Regions from separate parts of the Homo sapiens genome. Here region 2 is linked to region 1. The links are contacts of gene promoters, found by promoter capture Hi-C in human tissues and cell types (Jung and others, 2019). All regions are on one chromosome and are shown on one strand. The core of a region is centred on a gene start or on the middle of the fragment in contact, and the rest is flanking DNA. Distances in the headings are between cores, read along the strand shown. Region 1 holds the start of HEATR6 (HEAT repeat containing 6). Region 2 overlaps RPS6KB1 (ribosomal protein S6 kinase B1).

Evidence for each region. Contacts are between HindIII fragments. The study calls those that stand out against the background at their distance.
Region 2: a fragment that was not itself captured here is called in contact with the fragment with the promoter of HEATR6 in region 1 in 2 of the 25 tissues and cell types used here (H1 embryonic stem cells and dorsolateral prefrontal cortex).

The regions. Positions count from the first base shown.
Region 1 is chr17:60,076,013-60,083,474 of GRCh38, forward strand. HEATR6 (HEAT repeat containing 6) reads right to left here and starts at 2,909. Exons shown (of 20, transcript NM_022070.5): 1 at 2,684-2,909; 2 at 118-225. The coding sequence starts at 2,902. HEATR6-DT (HEATR6 divergent transcript) reads left to right here and starts at 3,297. Exons shown (of 2, transcript NR_135648.1): 1 at 3,297-3,460. RefSeq lists a silencer at 2,566-2,695. The HindIII fragment of the contact is 14,340 bases long and covers 1-7,462 here.
Region 2 is chr17:59,941,490-59,948,951 of GRCh38, forward strand. RPS6KB1 (ribosomal protein S6 kinase B1) reads left to right here. Exons shown (of 15, transcript NM_003161.4): 14 at 3,917-4,029; 15 at 5,062-7,462. The coding sequence ends at 5,299. Among named protein-coding and RNA genes, the nearest start is that of RNFT1, 20 kb to the right of the region's middle. The HindIII fragment of the contact is 3,250 bases long and covers 1,563-4,812 here.

The DNA of each region.
Region 1 (7,462 bases), core at 1,659-4,158:
TTTCCTATAGCATCTCAAAAAACAGCCTATCATACCTACTACAGATGTAGTATTTCAAAGGTATTTACTTACTCTCAAAGTTCATGATCTGAATTCTAGAGTTACATACATGATTACCTGTAATCTGTTAAGTAAATGGTGGATAAGCTGGCTCACTTTGCTGACAAGATGATTCTGATTAAGAGGTACCAGTCGGCAAGCCTGGACAAGAAGAGCACTAACGTCCTACCAAAAAAAAAAAGATAAGAGGTAAAATACTTATTAGTCAAGTGAAGATCCTCAAAACACAGCCAAATGGGAAAATAAAAGTAAATATTCACATTCAAAATGGGGAAAGAAAATGTGAGGCAGGAAGGAAAAAAATGAAGTGATAGCACAAAAACAGCATGTGCTAAAAAAGAAGGAAAAAGCCAGGCACAGTGGCTCACACCTAATCCCAGTTCTTCCGGAGGTCAAAGCGGGAGGACTGCTTGAGCCCAGGAGTCCAAGACCAGCTTGGGCAACATAGTGAGACTCCATCTCTACAGAAAAAACTTTTTTAAAAAAATTAGCTGGATATGGTGGTATGTAGTCCCAGCTTCTTGGGAGGCTGAGGTGGGAGGATGGCTTGAGCCCAGGAGTTTTAGGTCACAGTGAGCTATGATCTTGCTGCTGCACTCCAGTCTGGATGACAGAGTGAGACCTTGTCTCTTAAAAAAAAGAAAAAAGAAAAAAAAAGGAAAAGAATCAGTACGGTTTTGGTCAGGCTGAAGACTCTGTGCTCTCTATATGTAAAGACAGTATAATTAAATAACCAGAAAAAGGCTTCTAGGGTATGAAAGCACAAACTGAAGCTAAAAATATCAAAAGGTAAGTGAACCAGATTTTCAATGCCATTGGGAAAAATCAGACCTAACACTTCTATGGATTTTATGCATAATTAGGGAATTCTTAAAAAAAAAAAAAAAAAAAGAGGGACCTATTTGCAAGTCACACTCTTCATCCATCGATGTTTATAGAATGACAAGGTTCTGAGCACCTACTATGTGTCATAGTGTGCTAGGTCTTTGGGCTCCAAAGGTAAAACAAACATGTTCCTGAACCTCAAAGAGCTCACAAACTAGTGAGAGAGAAAGAAACACAACAAATAATTAAAATAAGGTGAATCAAGTGCTGAAAGAATAAAGTACAAACTCTGTCCAGAAACAGTAATTAGGGAGGCCTTGTGGAGGTGACTGTAAAGCAGAATCTGGAATGATTTGAAGGATGAGGAGAAATTTGCCAGATAGGGCATCAAAAAACACTGCAAGCAAAGTGGACAGAGTATGCAAAAACCTGGAGGTGTGAAACACTAGTAGGTGCCTGAAGAACAGCAAGTTTTAAATGGCTGCACACAGGAACAAAAGGGGGAGTAACAGGAGAGAATGGAAGTTTTGTTGCAAAAGTATCCAATTACACAAATACAGCAAAAGTCCCCGACTACTGCCTTAATCTCACTCTGCTTCCTAATGACATACACTATTATTCTGTAGTCAATTCTTTCAGACCTTTTACTTTGCATATATAAACACACATATTTTAAAATCCCTCCTCCAGCTTCATACTGATCTCATTCTGTATGAATTGTCCTGCAACTTGCTTCAACCATTTACCAATACGTATTGAAGACTTTTCCAAAGCAGATTTTAAAGTTTATGAACAATTTTTTTTCCTCCTAAAGAAAAGATCATTCTGGCATTGGAGGAATGACTGGCTTGGAGAGGAGCTAGACAGGAGGCAGGAGATCAGTCAGAGGGGATCAGCGAACAGTCCAGGCATAAGTCGCCTTGCCTGAGGTCTAAGGCACTCGCTATGGGAATAGACAGGAGGGGATGAACTGAGAAATATATATGAGACACATTCTGAAATACCTGAGTTGGTCAGGATCTGGGATGAAGGAGGGAAGAACCAGTGTTTGTGTCTGGTGTGACTTGGTGGATGATGCATGTGTGTTGGAAGGTGGGATGGACTGGGGACGGGAATGCGTGTTTGGAGCTAATGAATTTCATCTTTAGGAACTGTCTAGTTTGAGATGCCTGTGCAAGCAGGCAACTTGCACCACTTCCCTCTTTCCTACGTAGGGCCAGAAGGCCATGGTGTCAACAGTTCAGAGAATTCATTAATTTAAGGCCTGATGTGTGTAAGATTACTCAGAAAGACGGCAGAGGGGAGGAGCTAGTGTGTAGGAACAGAAAACATAGGGGCTTTGTGGCAGAGTTTTGTATACTGTATTTTTACGAGCTTCAGTATTTTCATTAGCAAACAAGCCCTAATACTACGCAAGTTCTAAGATTCCCACGTGGTCCGTGTACCATGTACGCAATAAACAGTAGTAATGCATTTTGTCAACCAAGTGTTCTGGGTGCACAGAGAGGGAGTGAAGGAGGGTGCGGGCGGATGGAAAGTTGGTATCAGAGAGGAAACCCGAGGCATTATCAGAGCAGGAGTCGTCAAGTTGGGTTTTGAATGACTCGAGCGTGCCAAGCACTGCAGGGTCTTCCAAATGGAGAACTAAGAATGTGCCAAGGTTGGAGGGGGCACGCCATCCTGAAACTAAATCATCAGGCGCGAGAGTGGGAAGATCAGGGAAAGGCAGGCAGAGGCCACCAGCTGGGTTCCCGGAGGGGTGGGGCCGGGGCCGGGGCCAGCAGGGCGCGCCGCCTACCTCCGGGGCCACGCCACTGCCCTCGCTGTAGTTCTCGGAGATGAGCTGATCGAAGAGCAGGTGGATCTCGGTGCGGGCGGAGCTGCTGTCATCCGGGCGCAGGGCGCAGAGCCTGGCAGACAAGAGGCGAAACCCATTGCCTCGCTCAGGGATTGCTTCCCGCGGTGCCTCCCGCGGCTGCACGGAAGGCCACGAACCGACAACTTGCACAGCAGCCATCTTTTCTACGGGCGGGGGGGGTGGGTGGGGTGATCCCAGGGAAATACTTCCGGGACATCCTCCCGTTCCGCGCGCTCTAGTTCCGAAAGTACCTTTTTTAGACCGGACTGGGGCTCAGAGGGGTTTCCATGACTACGGGACTCCTCCGACCGGTACCCTGCAGATGCTTGTCAGAAATTGGCTTGGAGGCCGGGCTCGGTGGCTGACGCCTGTAATCCCAGCACTTTGGGAGGCCGAGGCGGGCGGATCACGAGGTCAGAAGATCGAGACCATCCTAGCTAACACGGTGAAACCCCGTCTCTACTAAAAATACAAAAAAAAAAAAAAAAAAAAAATTAGCCGGGAGTGGTGGCGGGCGCCTGTTGTCCCAGCTACTCGGGAGGCTGAGGCAGGAGAATGGCGTGAACCCGGGAGGCAGGGCTTGCAATGAGCCAAGATCGCGCCACTGCACTCCAGCCTGGGCGACAGAGCGAGACTCCGTCTCAGAAAAAAAAAAAAAGAAAGAAATTGGCTTGGAGATTTTTCGCCGGCCACTCCTTCTTGAGCCCTGACTGAAAAGTGAGTTCTCAATTTGTGCTTCCAGAAAGTTTGTCCTCCCAGAGTTTGTTCCTGGACAGGGCTGAAGGTACTCTGTTCCGTACTAGAGTTTCAGATTCGGGCTGGAGTTGGAGAGGGTATGCTGTGGATGGCAGTAGCAGAAACCGCTAGTTCTAAGGCACCCTTCTACTCTTCTAAAATCTTTCCCCAGGCACAAAACCACCCGGAATAAAGGCTACGTTCCCTAGCATTCCTTGCAGTTGGCTGTGGCTCTGTGATTGCAATCTGGTCAGTGGAATATAAGGCAGCTTTCCCTACTTAAGTGACAGCTGGCTGTACTCTTGGTTCCTTTTTCTCCCTTTTTCCCAGTGTGAATCCTCTCATGGATCATGAGGCACCTCGCCCCACTAGAAGAGTAATTTTGGAGTTTAACTGAATCATGTAAAATATAATCTGCCTAAGAGTGACCGGGTTGAAATGAGACACCCCAAGATTTTCTGAAACCTTGAAGTCAAGAAGCTGGAGAATAAAATGGCCATTTAAAAATCTGTGATCACTTTTCAGTCATCCAGGAAGTGAAGGCTTGACTTTCACAGTTGGGCAGATTGGGAAAACCATCTCTAGGGCCTTTGAGTTATGCAAATATAAAGCAAATCCTCACCCTTGGCCCTTAGGGAAAACCTTGAAGTCACCTGAATGTATGTTTTATCCTGAGAACAAAACATTTCTGTTCAGCAGTGAAAATTGGGGGTATGCTTTAGCAGAGGTAGTTTTCTGAAGACTTTGGGCTTGGGGAGAAATGTTAATTTTTTTGTTTGGATTTAGATTCCGTTGTGCTGGTATATTATTTCTTATTCCTAGTCTGTGTACATATGTGCGTTATATATGTGCATGTGTGTGTGTGTATTCGTGTAAAGAAATGTATTCAAGCATTTGTTCAGAGAAGATCAGGAGCTGAAACCTAGTCGTTGGATATTTTAATCTGGGTTCCCTGATAGCAGAGCCTCAGATGAGGTTGATAGGTGAGGGATTTATCCAGAAATGAACAGGGAAGGAAGGAGAATTAATACCAATATGTGCTATTGAGTTGGCCATTGCAAGGGGTGACTGATTGTTCAGTCCTCAGGAGTTTCTGAGAAGCCTTGTGAAGCTCTCAAAACCCTTCTTCTGAGGAACAGAGAGGAAAAGCATTTATCTGTCAGCTTTTGAAGTCTATTGTCAAAAGTTGACCACAAGGCATTAATTCACTGGTGTTCCTGTGTTGAGCATGCATCTGTGCTTGGTTCCTGGAGGAGTCCTATGTTGCATAGTCAAAGAAGCCCTGAGGCAAAAGTGAGGAAACTAGGTGCATATCTGAGGCAAGGCTCTCACCAGTTATACCTGTGCTAAGCTAGTAGATGCCTGTGATAAACTAGTTGCTGTAGCAATGGCTAGAGTAAGAATGTAAGACCAAGAGTATGTGAAGTAGTACTAAAGAGCTGTCTTACACATTGGGCTAGAAGGATGTGAGGCCTGGTCATTTCCACAATGCACGTTCGAAGAGACTGGAAAGGATCTGGGTTTGGTGTGGTTCACTTTAAGTTGCAATATGGATGACCTACATATTGTGTTATTCAGGGTGGAATGGCCCAGGAATTGTAAAATACAGTATACTGATGCCGGTCTGTTCAGTTCTGGTAGAATATACTGTTTTGGATCAGTGTGGTTCCTTTAAGGAAATGGACATCCCTACTCTGCAGTGATCACCAACTGAAGGAAACGTATCTCAAGCTCTGAGGGAGGCCTTTGAAGGCACCCTGCATTGGCTTGAGTTTAGACAGTAGCACTCCTGCTCCCACCTCCCACCCTGAAACTGTGGAAACACAGCATGGCAAAAGCTCTCTTCCAAGAAAATCTTCTGTCTCCTCCTCAATTCTCTGCATTTTCATAGTCCTGCAGTGACTGAGGGGCTTTAAGGGGTGCTAAGCACGTTCACAGCCATTTCCTTTGTTAGATTCTGCATCGGATGATCTGGAACCTCAGTGGAATTTCACTCCTTTCATGTGTGGAAACCTCTCAAGACTTCACTTTTATCCCTTCATGAGCGTCTGGGTCATCCTAACTCACGTAGGCTTGCATACCCCCACTTCACTCTAATTCACATCTTTGATTATTTCCTTCGGAAAATTTACCATAACCTGCAGTTATCTTGTTTATTTGATGACTTTATCATCTGTTTTCCCCTCTAGAATATTAACTTTATGAAGGCACAGTTCCCGTTTGTCTCATTCGCTGTTGTATCCCAGGGCTAGCACAGCCCCTGGGATGTGGTAGATGCCCCACAATATTTGTTAACAGAATGAATGAATTCACTAATTTTTTATTCAGGGTCCCCTATTTGCCACCGGTTGATGTGAAAATCGAATGGGATTTTTGTGAAAATGCTTTGTAAACTATAAAGTTTTATAAGTCTTAGTATCAAATGAGGTAGATATTATTTCCCCCTTTTATAGTTGGGAAAATGGTGCCGAAGAGTATAAATGGTTGGTCAAGGCTGCACAGGCAGCAAATTGGTTGAAATCAGATTGCAGCCCAGGCTGGCTGTGATTGTGAAGAACATAGACAAGAAATTATAAACCCATTGTTTTTTACCTCCCACATTTTGTAATGGGGAAAACCAGAAGACAGGAGCTTGATTTCGGTATCCAGATTACACTTTGAACCAGGAGAGGCTAGGAAGGAGGATTGGCCTTGAGTTCTGTTTCAGGGTCATCAGCCTATCTATGTGATTACATAGGAGTCCCCCCTTATCAGTAGTTTCACTTTCAGCCTTTTCAATTACCCGTGGTCAATCACAGTATGAAAATATGAAATGCGCTGGGCGCAGTGTCTCATGCCTGTAATCCCAGCACTTTGGGAGTCCGAGACGGGCTGCTCACTGGAGGTCAGGAACTCGACACCAGCTGACCAACATGGTGAAACTCCATCTCTACTAAAAATACAAAAATTAGCCGGACGTGTTGGCACACGCCTGTAATCCCAGCTACTTGGGAGGCTGAGGCAGGAGAATCACTTGAACCTGGGAGGCAGAGATTGCAGTGAGCCGAGATCACACCATTGCACTCCAGCCTGGGTGACCAAAGTAAAACTCCGTCCAAAAAAAAAAGAAAAAAAAAACGAAATGGAAATTTCCAGAAATAAACAATTCATACATTTCAACTTGCTGCTGTTCTGAGTAGCGTGATGAAATCTTGCGCCATCCCACTTCATTCTGCCTGGAATGTGAATCATCCCTTAGTCAAGCATATCCACGCTTTATATGCTACCCACCCGTTAGTCACTTAATAACCATCTCAGTTATGAGATCCACTGTCCCAGTGCTTGTGTTCAAGTAACCTTTATTTTGCTTAGTGGTCTCAAAGCATAAGAGTAGTGATGCTGGCATATTGTTATATTTGTTCTATTTTATTATTAGTTATTGTTAATCTCTTACTGTGCCTAATTTATAAATTTACTTTATCATAAGGATGTATTTATAGGACAGAACACATATATAGAGAGTTTGATACTATCCACGGCAGTATATGTAGAGTTTGATACGATCCACGGTTTTGTGCATTCACTGGGGGTCTTGAAACATATCCCCCGTGGATTAGGGGTACTACTGTGTTAATAATCATTGTAGTTAACACTTACTGAATGCTTTCTATGTGTCAGCACTTTATGTGACCCTCTTTAATCTTTGTAGTTTCATGAGGTACTATTATATATATGAGTCGAATCACAGAAAGATGAAGACTCTCACTGAAGGCCACATGGCTGTGTGGTGTGCCTGGGTTTGAAATTCAGAGTCAGGGCTCCTGACCACCATGCTATAATGCATAGGACTTATATGGCGTTCGACATGAGATTATAGTTTAGGCCCTGACACTTACCTGCTATATGACTCTGCCCCAAACCTCAGTGTCCTCAAATGGTAATGATAAGAAGTGCAGTCAAAAGGTTGTTAAGGTTACTTAGATAATGCCTGGGGAGAATTTAACA
Region 2 (7,462 bases), core at 1,938-4,437, 130 kb before region 1:
TTTTATTTTTTTGTAGAGACAGAGTCTCACTATTTTACTCCTGGACTCAAGCTATCTTCCTGCCTTGGCTTCCCAAAGTGCCAAAATTATAGGCATGAGCCATCGTTCCTGGCCCTATTTTTGGTACTCTTAACATAAGTAGGGGATTTTTTTTTTTTTTTTTGAGACGGAGTCTTGCTCTGTCACCAGGTTGGAGTGCAGTGGCGCGATCTCAGCTCACTGCAACTTCTGCCTCCTGGGTTCGAGTGATTCTCCTGCCTCAGCCTCCCGAGTAGCTGGGACTATAGGCGTGCGCCACCACGCCCAGTTAATTTTTGTATTTTTAGTAGAGACAGGGTTTCACCATGTTGGCCAGGATGGTCTCGATTTCTTTTTTTTTTTTTTTTTGAGAAGGAGTCTCGCTCTGTCGCCCAGGTTGGAGTGCAGTGGCGCAATCTCAGCTCACTGCAAGCTCCACCTCCCGGGTTCACACCATCCTCCTGCCTCAGCCTCCTGAGTAGCTGGGACTACAGGTGCCCGCCACCACGCCAGGCTAATTTTTTGTATTTGTAGTAGAGACGGGGTTTCATCGTGTTAGCCAGGATAGTTTTGATCTCCTGACCTCATGATCCGCCCGCCTTGGCCTCCCAAAGTGCTGGGATTACAGGCGTAAGCCACCACGCCCAGTCGATGGTCTCGATTTCTTGACCTCGTGATCCACCCGCCTTGGCCTCCCAAAGTGTTGGGAATACAGGCATGAGCCACCGTGCCAGGCCAAGTAGGGGATTTTTTTAACATTAATTGTGAATATTTGACATCAAAACATATTGGTTCATATGTAATAGTGAATTCTCATTGTAGAAATGTCTGTATAGATTTATAGCTTGTCTCCTCAGAAAAGTAAAGGTTTTTGATGTTGGCCAACAGAAATGATGGATTTATATCAGAAGACCATGAATGCATACTATTTTGCTCAAATAGCACATATGCTTGTTGATTTTATTACTGTACTTAATATGTCACATGAACATCTATCTCATTTTGTATCCTTTTTTTTTCTTTTGTCATTTGTTTTTGGACTACTCTAGGGAGAATAGAATATGGGGAAAATAATTGTTTGGGAGTGTTTTTTCCCTGTTTTTGAGTTCACTGGATTTGTCACTAACTTAATTCTTAAGCTTTTCTTCCCCACATTGCTCACTATGTAATACAAGTAGTGTTGTATCTTATGGGATGGGAAATAAGCTCTAAAGTTAGCATGGAGTTGGGGCATGGTGGCTTATGGCTATAACCTTGAGGTCAGGAGTTCAAGACCAGCCTGGCTAACATGGTGAAACCCCATCTCTACTAAAAGTACAAAAATTAGCCAGGTGTGGTGGCATGCACCTGTGGTACCAACTACTTGGGAGGCTGAGGCAGGAGAATCACTTGAACCCGGGAGGCAGAGGTTGCAGGAGCCAAGATTGTGCCACTGCACTCCAGCCTGAGCGATAGAGTGAGTGAGACTCCGTATCAAAAAAAAAAAAATTAATTAAAAAAATTAAGTTAGTATGGGATGCAAAAGTTGTGTATAGTACAGTATGGTTTTGAGTAAACAACACTGAATAGTAATAATCCTATAAATTAATATAGAGCACATAGGCAAAATATAGTCTTACAGTATTACATAAGAGATAAAAGATGAGTGAGTGCATGCATGTTTTTAAATTCAAGTTTGATGTGTGCATGATCAAAGTTACGGCATCTCTGTTAGTAAAATCTTAGGTTCAGTTAGGGAAGTGGGCATGAATCACTTTAATTTTGGCATTTTTTTTCTCTCATGTACTACAGATGTGGAATTTATACCTTTGATTTAACATAGAGACCTTTTCCTCAATTGGACATTGCAGAATTTCAACTTATGTGACAGTTTTCCCCCCACAAAATAGAAGCATTTTATTTAGCTGCCAAGAAATCCAAAGTTGTGGTGGTAAAAGTGAGATATTGAAGCTTTCGTTGCCAGTTAAAGTATTGTTGAGCTTTTCACAATTACTTAAATTGGCTAATGAATAGAGCAACTCATTTGTTAGGTTGTAGCCAGAATTCTCTACATAAAGTGGATCTCTTTAAACATTAATAAAAAAAAATAGGTCAGGTGCAGTGGCTCACGCCTGTAATCCCAGCACTTTGGGAGTCTGAGGTGGGCGGATCACAAGGTCAGGAGTTCCAGACCAGCCTGGCTAATATGGTGAAAACCCATCTCTACTAAAAATACAAAAATTAGCCAGGCATGATGGCTGTAGTCCCAGCTACTCGGGAGGCTGAGGCAGGAGAATCGCTTGAACCCGGGAGGAGGAGGTTGTAATGAGCTGAGATCACGCCCCTCACTGCACTCCAGCCTGGGCGACAGAGCTAGAATCCATCTCAAAAAAAAAAAAAAAATTATATATATATATATACACATATATATATATACACACATACATACACACACACATATAGTGACATCCCACTTATCTGGATAATGTGGTTCTAGCAACCTCATTTCAACAAATATTTTAATTCCTGTTGTAAGACCCCATCACAGAATTAGAGGAAATTCAAAGATGATTAAGGCACAGCCTGTACCTCTTGGTAGTTACAGCTTTAGTCCACCAGAACGTTTGTAAAATTATTCTCTGAAGTTCACATATAACTGTCACAAATCATATGCACTTCAGAATTGCACCTCACTCTTTGGGACTTCACTCAGAGCTTTGCTGAGTCTTATTTATTGTAACACATAATGCTTACTCATAGATTTTGATAAATAGAAGATAGGTGAAGATGGTTAAAAGAATGAACATTGACAGCTAGAGAAATGACAGCTGGTAGCCTAATAGTAAGATCCAAGAGAGAACTAAAATGAACAAAACTGCATTTTTGCCTATTACAACTGAAGGTTTTTGAAATGTTGATACTTATTCATCAAGAAAACACCAAATTCTAGCTGGGCAGAGATCACACGTGCCTATATAGTCACAGCTACTTGAGGGGCTGAGGTGGGAGAATAGCTTGGGTCCAGGAGTTTGAGGCTGCAGTGAGCTATGTTATCACCACTGCACTCCAGCCTGGGCAATATAGGGATACCCCATCTCTTAAAACAAAACAAAAAACGAATTCTGTCCAATCATTGGCGTAAAACCAGAAAGATCACAAGATCTGACTTTGATGCCAAGTCAGAAAATTGTTTTTACTTTGGTCTGATTATAAGAAACTGTTTTAGGGTGATAAACTTAATTGCTTATATGCCTGTGGCTAGAAACACTAGAAGTTTCTTTACATTTCTCCTAGTATTTAACATCTTTTTTTTTTTTTTTTTTAATTTTTGAGATGGAGTCTTACTCTGTTGCCCAGGCTAGAATGCAGTGGTGCGATCTCTGCTCACTGCAACCTCCACCTACCAGGTTCAAGTGATCCTCCTGCCTCAGCCTCCCGAGTAGCTGGGATTACAGGCGTGCACCACCATGCATGGTGGTGTATTTTTGTATTTTTAGTAGAGACGGTGTTTCACCACATTGGCCAGGCTGGTCTTTAACTCCTGACCTCAGGTGGTCTGCCCGCCTTGGCCTCCCAAAGTGCTGGGATGACAGGCGTGAGCCCCCGTGCCTGGGCGTATTTAACATCTTCATATGGAGCCTGAATTTTCCTGTTTTTTTTTCTATTCCTGTCAGTAGGGTAGAATTTTGTTTGCTAGCATATCAGGCTCAATGGAATTCTGCTTTCTTGAAGTGTGTGCCTCACGAAATGGCTGGAAAGAAGTTAACGGGTCTAAAAATGAGGTTGAGGACGTGGGAGAGTGTACACATTGGTGGTTTTAGGTGTGCATCATTGTGTAGGTATGTCAGACTGAACAACCCCATTCTCTTGAGATACATGACAAAATGCCATTCTGTAGTCCACTGTTACTGTCTTTCAGGGTTTTACATATGTGGCTCCATCTGTACTTGAAAGTGTGAAAGAAAAGTTTTCCTTTGAACCAAAAATCCGATCACCTCGAAGATTTATTGGCAGCCCACGAACACCTGTCAGGTATTTCACACTCTTATTTTCACTTTTTTTTGTTTTTAAACAACCTACAAGAGTGTTTGCTTAAGAAGTTTATGCCAAGTTATATAAATGAAAGACTGTCATACTCTCTTTGGTTGACATAAGCACAGCATCTATATCTTACATTGCAAAGGACTAGTCTGACTAATCTATGATGTTATATGGTTTACCTTCCCTCCCAAAAGTAAGCAGCCATACTGGCAAATGTCCTCTTTATCCATTCACTCAGCATTTATTGTGCACCAAGAGCACCAGCACTACATACTGCATGTTATGTGTGTGTATCTATATAGTACTATAATACAGGAATTGTCCCTGTCCTGATGAAGCTTACAATTTAGTGGGAAAGTCACAATAGACAAAGGATATACAAAAATATAATTACAAGTAGTGCAAAGTGCTATAATTTAAAAGGGGAAAAAAAGAATGTACTGGTAGAGAGCAGAGGAAAAACAAGGGGGCTTCTACTCACAGTGATCAGAGAAAGGCCTCCCTGGTGTAGTAACATCTAGCAGTGAACGGAAAGAGCCAGCCCTACAAAAATAGGAGGTATAAGAATGTTGCAGGCAGAAGAACAGCAAATGCAAAAACCCTGAGGGAGGAGAAAAGTTGCCCTTTTCCTGGAAGTGAAAGGGAAATCAGTGTTCCTGGAGTGTGTGGTGAGTGAGGAGAAGGGCAGAGGTTTGGAAAAGTATTTTATTTTAAATGCAATAGAAAGCTGTTTTGAGCAGGGGAGAGTAAAATGATATATATAATACGCATTTAAATGTATATATATCTCATTGAGGGTTTTGGGGGTCAGGTGTAGAGGTAAAGAGACCAGTTAGGAAATTCTAGCAGTTAATCTAGGTGGGGGAGAGATGGTTCAATTTTTGCCTTTGTGCTAATCCACGTGAAAATAAAATTAAATGAAAATAAATGTCATGTTACCCCACTCCCTTTAAACGTAAAGGAAATATGTCTTGTTGAGATGACCCTTAAGCAAATGAATGATAGCTCTTCCTTGTCTTAAAGCCCAGTCAAATTTTCTCCTGGGGATTTCTGGGGAAGAGGTGCTTCGGCCAGCACAGCAAATCCTCAGACACCTGTGGAATACCCAATGGAAACAAGTGGCATAGAGCAGATGGATGTGACAATGAGTGGGGAAGCATCGGCACCACTTCCAATACGACAGCCGAACTCTGGGCCATACAAAAAACAAGCTTTTCCCATGATCTCCAAACGGCCAGAGCACCTGCGTATGAATCTATGACAGAGCAATGCTTTTAATGAATTTAAGGCAAAAAAGGTGGAGAGGGAGATGTGTGAGCATCCTGCAAGGTGAAACGACTCAAAATGACAGTTTCAGAGAGTCAATGTCATTACATAGAACACTTCAGACACAGGAAAAATAAACGTGGATTTTAAAAAATCAATCAATGGTGCAAAAAAAAACTTAAAGCAAAATAGTATTGCTGAACTCTTAGGCACATCAATTAATTGATTCCTCGCGACATCTTCTCAACCTTATCAAGGATTTTCATGTTGATGACTCGAAACTGACAGTATTAAGGGTAGGATGTTGCTTCTGAATCACTGTTGAGTTCTGATTGTGTTGAAGAAGGGTTATCCTTTCATTAGGCAAAGTACAAAATTGCCTATAATACTTGCAACTAAGGACAAATTAGCATGCAAGCTTGGTCAAACTTTTTCCAGCAAAATGGAAGCAAAGACAAAAGAAACTTACCAATTGATGTTTTACGTGCAAACAACCTGAATCTTTTTTTTATATAAATATATATTTTTCAAATAGATTTTTGATTCAGCTCATTATGAAAAACATCCCAAACTTTAAAATGCGAAATTATTGGTTGGTGTGAAGAAAGCCAGACAACTTCTGTTTCTTCTCTTGGTGAAATAATAAAATGCAAATGAATCATTGTTAACCACAGCTGTGGCTCGTTTGAGGGATTGGGGTGGACCTGGGGTTTATTTTCAGTAACCCAGCTGCAATACCTGTCTGTAATATGAGAAAAAAAAAATGAATCTATTTAATCATTTCTACTTGCAGTACTGCTATGTGCTAAGCTTAACTGGAAGCCTTGGAATGGGCATAAGTTGTATGTCCTACATTTCATCATTGTCCCGGGCCTGCATTGCACTGGAAAAAAAAATCGCCACCTGTTCTTACACCAGTATTTGGTTCAAGACACCAAATGTCTTCAGCCCATGGCTGAAGAACAACAGAAGAGAGTCAGGATAAAAAATACATACTGTGGTCGGCAAGGTGAGGGAGATAGGGATATCCAGGGGAAGAGGGTGTTGCTGTGGCCCACTCTCTGTCTAATCTCTTTACAGCAAATTGGTAAGATTTTCAGTTTTACTTCTTTCTACTGTTTCTGCTGTCTACCTTCCTTATATTTTTTTCCTCAACAGTTTTAAAAAGAAAAAAAGGTCTATTTTTTTTTCTCCTATACTTGGGCTACATTTTTTGATTGTAAAAATATTTGATGGCCTTTTGATGAATGTCTTCCACAGTAAAGAAAACTTAGTGGCTTAATTTAGGAAACATGTTAACAGGACACTATGTTTTTGAAATTGTAACAAAATCTACATAAATGATTTACAGGTTAAAAGAATAAAAATAAAGGTAACTTTACCTTTCTTAAATATTTCCTGCCTTAAAGAGAGCATTTCCATGACTTTAGCTGGTGAAAGGGTTTAATATCTGCAGAGCTTTATAAAAATATATTTCAGTGCATACTGGTATAATAGATGATCATGCAGTTGCAGTTGAGTTGTATCACCTTTTTTGTTTGTCTTTTATAATGTCTTCAGTCTGAGTGTGCAAAGTCAATTTGTAATATTTTGCAACCCTAGGATTTTTTTAAATAGATGCTGCTTGCTATGTTTTCAAACCTTTTTGAGCCATAGGATCCAAGCCATAAAATTCTTTATGCATGTTGAATTCAGTCAGAAAAGAGCAAGGCTTTGCTTTTTGAAATTGCAACTCAAATGAGATGGGATGAAATCCTATGACAGTAAGCAAAAACAGAACCATGAAAAATGATTGGACATACACCTTTTCAATTGTGGCAATAATTGAAAGAATCGATAAAAGTTCATCTTTGGACAGAAAGCCTTTAAAAAAAAAATCACTCCCTCTTCCCCCTCCTCCCTTATTGCAGCAGCCTACTGAGAACTTTGACTGTTGCTGGTAAATTAGAAGCTACAATAATAATTAAGGGCAGAAATTATACTTAAAAAGTGCAGATCCTTGTTCTTTGACAATTTGTGATGTCTGAAAAAACAGAACCCGAAAAGCTATGGTGATATGTACAGGCATTATTTCAGACTGTAAATGGCTTGTGATACTCTTGATACTTGTTTTCAAATATGTTTACTAACTGTAGTGTTGACTGCCTGACCAAATTCC